2 separate regions of the Homo sapiens genome follow, and region 2 is linked to region 1. The links are contacts of gene promoters, found by promoter capture Hi-C in blood cells and fetal thymus (Javierre and others, 2016). All regions are on one chromosome and are shown on one strand. The core of a region is centred on a gene start or on the middle of the fragment in contact, and the rest is flanking DNA. Distances in the headings are between cores, read along the strand shown.

Evidence for each region. Contacts are between HindIII fragments. The CHiCAGO score rates a contact against its expected background, and 5 or more counts as called.
Region 2: a contact is called between a fragment that was not itself captured here and the fragment with the promoter of CTTNBP2NL in region 1, in 4 of 17 cell types (naive B cells, M2 macrophages, endothelial precursors and 1 more). The highest score is 7.6, in naive B cells.

What each region holds. Positions count from the first base shown.
Region 1 is chr1:112,393,507-112,398,221 of GRCh38, forward strand. CTTNBP2NL (CTTNBP2 N-terminal like) reads left to right here and starts at 2,708. Exons shown (of 6, transcript NM_018704.3): 1 at 2,708-2,766. RefSeq lists a silencer at 2,906-2,955. The HindIII fragment of the contact is 10,453 bases long and covers 1-4,715 here.
Region 2 is chr1:112,656,304-112,660,506 of GRCh38, forward strand. CAPZA1 (capping actin protein of muscle Z-line subunit alpha 1) reads left to right here. Exons shown (of 10, transcript NM_006135.3): 6 at 2,719-2,798; 7 at 3,398-3,476. Among named protein-coding and RNA genes, the nearest start is that of MOV10, 16 kb to the right of the region's middle. The HindIII fragment of the contact is 405 bases long and covers 1,765-2,169 here.

The DNA of each region.
Region 1 (4,715 bases), core at 1,458-3,957:
TATGAACCATTTTTTACCTCTGCGTACACCTATGCACCAGACTCTAAATTTATTTACAAGGTTTATGTATTGAAGAATCACAAACCTCCATAACTCTCTCACTGCTACAATCTGAAAGATACACGAGGTTCACAAGCCCTGCCTGTTCCCTACTTCTAGGGGTGAAAAATTAAAAGGAAAGCAATCTGAACACCCTCAAGACTCTGAATCCTACAAGGCAGGGATGTTCTCATTTTTGCTGAGTCCTTCTACACTCATTTAGGAATACGCAGAAGGGAAGCCAGGAAATCAGGGGAGTTGCCCATTGCTCTAAAGGAAGTAGGTCACAGAGCACTGCTCCCACCCAGTCAGCCAGGGAAAAGAATGGGTGGTGGTGGGTTAACAGCTACAAAGGGAATGAGGGAAAGAAAGGAGGACCTGCCGGGCATGGTGGTTTACGCCTGTCATCCCAGCCACTTTGGGAGGCCAGCAGGTGGATCACCTGAGGTCAGGAGTTTGAGACCAGCCTGGCCAACATGGCAAAACCCCATCTCTACTAAAAATATAAAAATTAGCTGGGCACAGTGACAGGCGCCTATAATCCCAGCTACTCGGAAAGCTGAGGCAGGAGAATCGCTTGAACCCAGAAGGCGGAGGTTGTAGTGAGAGATTGCGCCATTGCACTCCAGTCTGGGAGACAGAGCGAGACTCCATCTCGATAAAAAAAAAAAAAAAAAAGAAAAGAAAAACAAGGGAGGAGCTGATTCACTAGAACAACTCTTAGAGTGACTCAGAAGCCAGCAGAAAATAGCTTGTTCTCCCACATCTGCTTCATTGTCAGGCGATGAGGCACTTCCTCATTGCATACACATAGGCAGAGCGAAAGGGAGGAGGAGGAAATGGGATTTTTCAAGTTCCTTTGCCTGCTCCAGCACCTAACACTCTGTATTTGTAATCATTTCAGACATTTTGTTTCAAGTCAATATTTATTGAGTACCTACTCTGTGCCTGGCCCCTCATTTTAGCTTTCAGATTGTCAGTTTTCAGAACACAAGGCATAATGCCTTTCTGAAGTTCAGTATACCCTGCATCATTACTCCAGATTCACTTACACTGCTATCGAGCACCTTCACTCATAGTCTTGCTATCCTTCATATACAGAGATGACCCTCCCAAGCCTAAAATCAACAGGGGGAGGCATAGAGCTGTCCTTCTGGCTCTAATGTTTGCTTTACCATCATCCACGCCCATTCTTAGTCCAGCATGTGAGAGCCAGTGTGAAGTGAGCAGAATATGGCATAAGTATGGAGTCATACATCCTTACTGGAAATTCTTTACCATTTACTAGCTCTATGACTTTATTTGACTTCTCTGAATCTCTATCTTCTCATCTGTAAATTGGACACAATGATGTCTATCCTACACTGTAGGATAGATTTCTCATACAGCACTGAAAATGACATCAAATACCATTAAATGAAAGTACATGGCACAGTGATAACATGATAAATACTTGTTTACTTCTTTCAGACTATAATCGCACAAACTGATCACATCCCTCAGTCAGACTGTAAACTGCATGAGGCAGGCTGCATCTGCCTTGGGGACTGTCTGCCTAGGCAAGCACTAGGTCCCTAATGCTGTCTTGCGAATTATAATTGCTAAGTTTAGGGATAATGTATTAAGTGTACTACATTATTTATGCATTATGAATATTCGTCTCAAATATTTATTATATTGTATTTTAAATAATGTGGTTATTGTAAATGTAACCAGCTGCATCAATCTGTGAGCTGACAGCCATTCTGTGGAAAAGGAATTCAGAAACTTTGACCTTAGGTAGGGATACAACTAGTTATACATCCACTCCCCTCTCTGAGTTATTTGGTCCTGCCTAAGACTTGCTGCCACCAAGATCTGCATTCCTGTGTTCACAAGGCAGACATTCCTTGCATCCTCTGTACTCTCCATTGTTTCAACTTCACTGCAAACACCATTCCCCACAATATAATGAGGCCAAGGAAAGAAAAAAGTCGCCTCAGCTGGCAAGCATAGGGTGGAAAAACCTGCCACACAAATTTGCAATTATTTGACTTCCGCCTGGAAGGCAGGTCGGCTGGGTTTATGTCCCCCAAAGTTAGTATCCTCTTCTGTACAAAATGTGGTTGAGAGAAGGGTGATCTCCAGGTGTTTCATCTTTGCACCCTTGCTTCCAGCACCACGCCCACAGGCGCTTCCAGAAAAAAGAAAAAAAAAAAGGGAGCAAGGAAGCCAGGTTTTTCAACAACGAATTCATTCTAATGCAGACACCAAAGCCCACTTCATTTATTAACATTCTGGATAAAATCCCAATCGATTAGGCCACCAGAGCCCTCCATTCCTAAACTCCGCGTACAGTCAGGTAAAAGCACGAAGCACTAGTCACGGTCCTGCCCAGACTTTTCACGCAGAGGTGGAAAGTTGCAGACCCCGAGCCGGGAGGGGCGCGAGCCCACCCTGAAGCCCAGGACCCAGGAGGGCGCTTCCTCCCGGAAGTGACGCGAGCTCAATCCCGGCCTTGCTCTTCCCAAACAAAAGGGATCTTGGGGCCCCGGGAGGAGCCTGAATGACTTTGGAGAAGCCCCGCCTCCAGCCGGCGCGGATTGGGGCCGAGGCTGGAGAAGCAAGGAGGCGATTGGCGCTGGTGAATGCCAATGCCCCCGCCGGGCGGCTGAGGGGGCGGAGCCTCAGCCGCTGTGGATGGGGAGTGGAGGCGGAGGGGAGCGGAGCCCGGAGCGTCGTGGAAAGGTAGGAGCAACTATCCCTGGGGCTTGGTGATGGCTGGGAGGCCGGGTTCTCAAGAGCAAAGCAAGGATAGGGGCACCGGTAGCCTCCCGCCGCCGTCTCAACGGCCTCTGGGCCCATCCCCTGAGGGGGCGGGGCCGTCTCCTCCACCTCCCGGTATTCCCCGAGGAGGCGGCTCCTCATCCTCCGAGGGTCCTCACAGCTACTTTTTGTCCCTCGTCGATTCCCAGCTCCTCAGAAGGGGCTTCCCTCTGACACCCCTCATTCAAAGGCACCTCCCACCCCGCACCTCAGCCTTGGCGGAGAGGACTCACAGGTACCGATTCTCTAGGCTGCCGCCCCCAACCCCATTTCGTACCCCCGGAAGGCCAAACATCCCTCCCTACACCTGTCCCTGCTCGCCAGGGTGGGACTGGAGCTGCTTTCCTCCGTAAGATAAAATTGGTGTTTCCCAAAAAGGAGGGATGGGGCGAAGCAAAAATCAAAGACCGACCTAGACAGCCAGCTTTACGGAGGAAGCGGCTTCTCCCACTTAAGTTCTTCCCATCCCCCATTCTCTGATGCTCAGTCTTCCTCCCGCAGCCCCTCGCATCCTCTGGCCTCTTGTGAGGAGTCGAGAGCTCTCCTGTTTTGGGACTGTTTTGGACTGTGAAAGAGGGAGAACTAGGACCTCCTCTCCTTCACCCTTTGTACCTTCCTTCTACTTTCTGTTCCTTCTGGGAGCACCCAGCCTCTAAGGGTTTCTTAGGTTTGAATTGCGTTTCATTTTTCCTTTTCCACCCTATTTCCTCCCTGAGAACTTGATGAAAAGCCATCTTATATTTCACAGTGAGGTGGGTGTGTTGGATATCTGCAGAGCTGGCTTTGTGTGGGCAGGAATGCAGTATATGTTGCTTGACAGTCAATGAATAACACCATGTTTTCAAATGAAACAGTATACATAAGTAAATAAGTAGCAGTGGATTAGGAATGAGTATATCCCAGTCTAGGGTGGGCTGGTCCATTGCTCAGGGAGACTGCAGTTAACCTTGAAGGTATACTGCAGGTTGAAACAAAAGACAGGAAGTGTTTGAAGAAAATTCAGGGTCAGTCATCTAGGTTTATGATTAATCTAGTCCTATGTCCTTTGGTAACTCTCTAACCCCTTTTTTATAGTGTCCTCCCCGCCCCCAGGAAACATTCATGTATATTTTGATTGGTTTTACGATCATCTATCAAAATTTAGAGGATGAAAAGTAAGAACAATTTTTAAATCTCAGAGATAAGAGTAAATAAAGGCAAGGTATTCTAGCTATTCATGTTTACCAAAAAGTGCCTCTTCTAGTGTGCTCCTAAAGGTTTTGTCAAGTGGTCTTCATTTCAGCAGGTGCAAAGTGTTGATTTTGACCTCATGTTAATGTCGTTGAATCCCCAGTAATCATCTATTGCTAGCGCTTTTATATATTAAAATTTACCATGTTTTTAGCATAGTTTCTTTTGCTTCCAATCTCAAGTCTACCTCCCCTCTGTCAGCTATAGCCAAAGCTGATGGCAATAAAATGCAAGGAGTTGGAATCACGGAGGGTGATTGTAATGACTGTTGTCTTTTACCTTCTTGATTAGACTTTCTGAAGGTAGACTTCCTAAAGATAATTACTTTTGAATAGTTAGGTTTGAAGTTTTCAGAGCCACTCGGTGCTCACAGGTCTTCTCAGTGATTGTTTCCAAATCTCCAGTAAGAAAGTACAAAGAAGAAACTGGAGGGTGTCTCTAGCAAACGCAATGTGTGCTGCAATAGAAGGGTAAGACGTGAGCTCCCAGCAATAACAGCAGAAAAAACTAAAAGCAGAACAGAAAATCCCAAAAAGATAAGTTGTATTATATCAACAGAGAACAGAAAATAAACTAAGGTAAGAGACTAAGCAAACCAAAGTTGTGATTGCCGAGGTTTAATAGGAAAAAGCAAATAATAT
Region 2 (4,203 bases), core at 717-3,216, 260 kb after region 1:
GTTTTTATCTCATAGAGTTGTTGTGAAGATTTAATGAATTAGTAATATATGTAATATATGCCTGGAACAGTGCCTGGCACAAAGTAAGCTCTACATAAATGTTAGATGAATGTTAGGCTAGGTGTCATTATGTTTGATTTTTTTTTTTTTTTTTTTTTTTTTTAATGAGAATACCCATTATGGTGGACTGGACAAGTATAGAATTCCTGTTGGGAAGCCAGTATTGCAAAGGGGAGACATGATAGACTCCCATTTAGAAATTGACTGTTTAATCCTAAATATACTTTGAATTTATTGTTTGTTACCTGTTCAAAGTTTGTCACTACCCATTCTTAATTTGGAGAGCTCCAGCACCAAATAACCCTACTGTGTCCTTAGCTATCAAATGACCTACAGAAAGTCATGGAATTGTTGTGATGGTGTCTGCTGTATATAAGTATCCTATGTCTTATGTCTTCAGCTGACCTGCTTAGTAGTCCGTAATTTCATCTCCTTATTCCCTATCACATTTTCTACATAGTATGTTCCAAACATTTTTCATTGTCCTCTGACAGGCATCTAATCCCCCATGTTTTGTAAGGATTGAAACTGACAGAAATTTTTTTTTTTTTTTTTTGAGACAGAGTCTCACTCTGTCTTCCAAGCTGGAGTGCAATGGTGTGGTCTCGGCTCACTGCAACCTCCCCTTCCTGGGTTCAAGCGATTCTCCTGCCTCAGCCTCCTGAGTAGCTGGAATTACAGGCGCCTGCCACCACACCTGGCTAATTTTTGTATTTTTAGTAGAGACGGGGTTTCACTGTGTTGGCCAGGCTGGTCTTGAACTCCTGACCTTGTAATCCGTTCGCCTCAGCTTCCCAAGTAGCTAGGACCACAGGTGCACACCACCATACCTATCTAATTTTTCTCTGTGTGTGTTGTGTGTGTGTAGGGACTACAAGGCATGAGCCACCAGGCCCGGCCTATTTCTCCTTCTTTGTCTGCCCTTTCCACCTTGCCCTTTCTCCCTCTTCTCCACTTTTTCCCTTCTCTCATCTCTCTCTGCATCACCACCACGTCAGTACATATTCTTTGCCTGCTAATGCCATTTCCTCTATCTACTTCTGAACCCTTTAATTTTTTACTTTAGTCTCCATTCTACAGAAACTGCTCTGAGTTTACTAATGGTTCCTGAGTTACCTGGTCCAGTGTCCTTTTCCTTGTCCATGACTTCCGAATGGCATTTCACACTGAAGCCAATCAACCACTTCTAGAAATTATCTTTTACTTAGGCTGCTGTCAGCAACCCCTAATTCTTTTTTTTTTTTAGAGATGGAGTTTTGCTCTTTTTGCCCAGGCTGGCGTACAGTGGCATGATCTCAGCTCACTGCAACCTCCGCCTCTCAGGTTCAAGCGATTTTCCTGCCTCAGCCTCTCTAGTAGTTGGGATTACAGGTGCCCACCACCACACCTGGCTAATTTTTGTATTTTTAGTAGAGATGGGGTTTCACCATGTTGGCCGGGCTGGTCTTGAACTCCTGACCTCAGGTAATCCCCCTGCCACAGCCTCTCAAAGTGCTGGGGTTACAGGCTTGAGCCATTGCACCCAGCCCCCTAATTATTCTTACTCTATACTAAGTTCTTTTTTTCCCCTACCTTTGTAAATGTAGGCATTCCCCCAAAGTTCATAATTCATTTAATGCAGGTAAAGTAACACAGACTTCGGTGTCACAAAAACAGTGGGTTTGGATTCTACCTTTACCACTTCCTGAGTGACCTTAGGCAAGAAGCTTTGTGAACTTCAACTTCTTATCTGTAGATAACACTGTATTTCATCAGATTTATTAGAGGAAAAAGAAAATACATGTAAGAACATATTTTGTGGACTATAAAGCGCTATTTTTTTTTTCTTACTTTCCCTTGGTGATTGCATTTCCATTCACCTCTCCCACACTAAAGAAGAGTTAGTGTTTCTAACTACTAACTAGACATCTCCATCTGTAATTTCCAGTTTGTTAATGACACCACCATCTTTTTAGTCACTCTTGAGTTCCTTCTTTCCTTTGCCCATCATTTGCAATATACTGCTAGACTTTGATTGTACTTCTACATTCTGTGTGCAACTCTTCCTTTCCATTCCCATTAATATAACTCTGACTTGTTGCCTAGATTAATCCTGTGGCCTCCTAACCAAGCTTCAGCTTTTCTTCGTTTTATCTTGAATACCAGTATTGATTATTCTCCCACAATATTAGTTCTAGTCATGTTTTGCTGTCTCTCCATTGCCTATAGAATAAAATCTTAAACTTCTTACTTTACATCTACTATTACATGACCTAAATCTACCATCCTGTTTTGTCTTTCATTAGTCCACTTCACACACACCCTTTAAACCTGACAGTCTTGTTCACTGAACAAGTCCTTAGTTTCCTGTCTTGCCTTTATTTTCAGTCTCTGCTTATCAGAATCTCATCTGTCTTGTATGACCCAGCCTAAATGGCACCCGCCTTGTACCCCAAACCAAGAGCAGTATTTCCCTCTGTTTTCATTGTATCACTGTCTCTGGTAGAACCTAACATGTTCTGCTTTGTTTTCATATCCCATGTGCACTATTGTGTTCTAAGCTCATTTTATGTGATTCTTTGTCTCCCCCAAGGATTTAACACTCTGCTTTTGTACAATGCATGTTGTTTAAATTAAAAGTGTTTGGAGTCTTTAACTATTTTTTTTTCCCAACAATAGGTTTATGCTAAAACTATCGATGGGCAACAGACTATTATTGCATGTATTGAAAGCCACCAGTTTCAGCCTAAAAACTTCTGGTAAGAAGTAGATATTCTCTTCTATTTACATCTGAAAGAAACCAGCAGTTGAGACTTGGTTTTTAATCCAACTAGCTTGGAATAATTATTTAACTTACAGACTTCAGTTTTCCATCTATAAATGAGGGATTTAGATTCCTTACAGTTCTAAGGTTTTATAATTATATTTTCCTTTAAAAGTTACTCTTATTTTGAGTGAGAACAAGTGATTAGTAAAGTGCCCTGTTGAAAATCTGAGTTTTACTTGGCTTAGGGTTACTGCTACTTGAGTTAATTGTGTAACTCAGCAGCCTATTCATCTGATTTTGGAAGAGCCTCCCATGAGCAGAATAGGCATGGTTTTCCATTTCAAGGGAAAAAAGGAAAAATGAAAGACAAAATAACTTAGAAAAGGCTTATGGTCAGGCCACTTAGATCCAGACTTACATTTGAGTAGACAGAGCTTTGGGTTTGCCAAACTGGAAATGACAGTTTCTCTCTCTCTCTTTTTTTTTTTCTTTTTTTGCACCCCTCTTTCCCAACTTCTGTACCTCAGTGGCAAATCACCTCTTTCTTGTGCTTATTGCTAATTCTGCAATGTTGTGTGTGTGTTTTAATAGGAATGGTCGTTGGAGATCAGAGTGGAAGTTCACCATCACACCACCTACAGCCCAGGTGGTTGGCGTGCTTAAGATTCAGGTGAGATTCCAACATGTTTATAGACTTAAAACTTCACATCTTTAAAACATGTGCAGGTTGCTTTGGTATTAAATAAGGACCAAGTATGTGTAGATGCAAAGGGAGACTGATGGCAGTGAATAGAAATAGAAGCCTCCTTCTTGGGGTGGTAAACAGAGAGAGCTATTCTGAGTTGATAAAGGATAGCATGTAGAGTGTATGGCAACATGGTTATTGTTATTTTTCCTTCAATGGTAACATAAGATATAACTAGGAATTATCAAACAGCAGTTTTAGGAAAGATTTAAAATTAATAATAATAATAATTATTATTTTTTGGGACAGAGTTTCACTCCATCACCCAGACTGGAGTGCAGTGACGTGATCTCAGCTAACTGCAACCTCCACCTCCCAGCCCAGGCTGGGTTAATTCCTAAAAATTATAACTAGAGAGAATGGCAGGTGTTTTGGAATATAAATAGCCAAGCAGAAGTAGATTGATTGATTGATTGATTGATTGACTGATTGATTGATTTTTGAGATGGAGTTTTGCTCTTATTGCCCAGGCTGGAGGTGCAATGGCATGATCTCGGCTCTTCGCAATCTCTGGCTCCTGGGTTCAGGTGATTCTCCTGCCTCGGCCTCCCGAGTAGCTGGGATTACAGGCATGCGCCATCACGCCTAGCTAATTTTCTATTTTTAGTACAGGCGGGGTTTCTCCATGTTGGTTAGGCTGGTCTCGATCTCC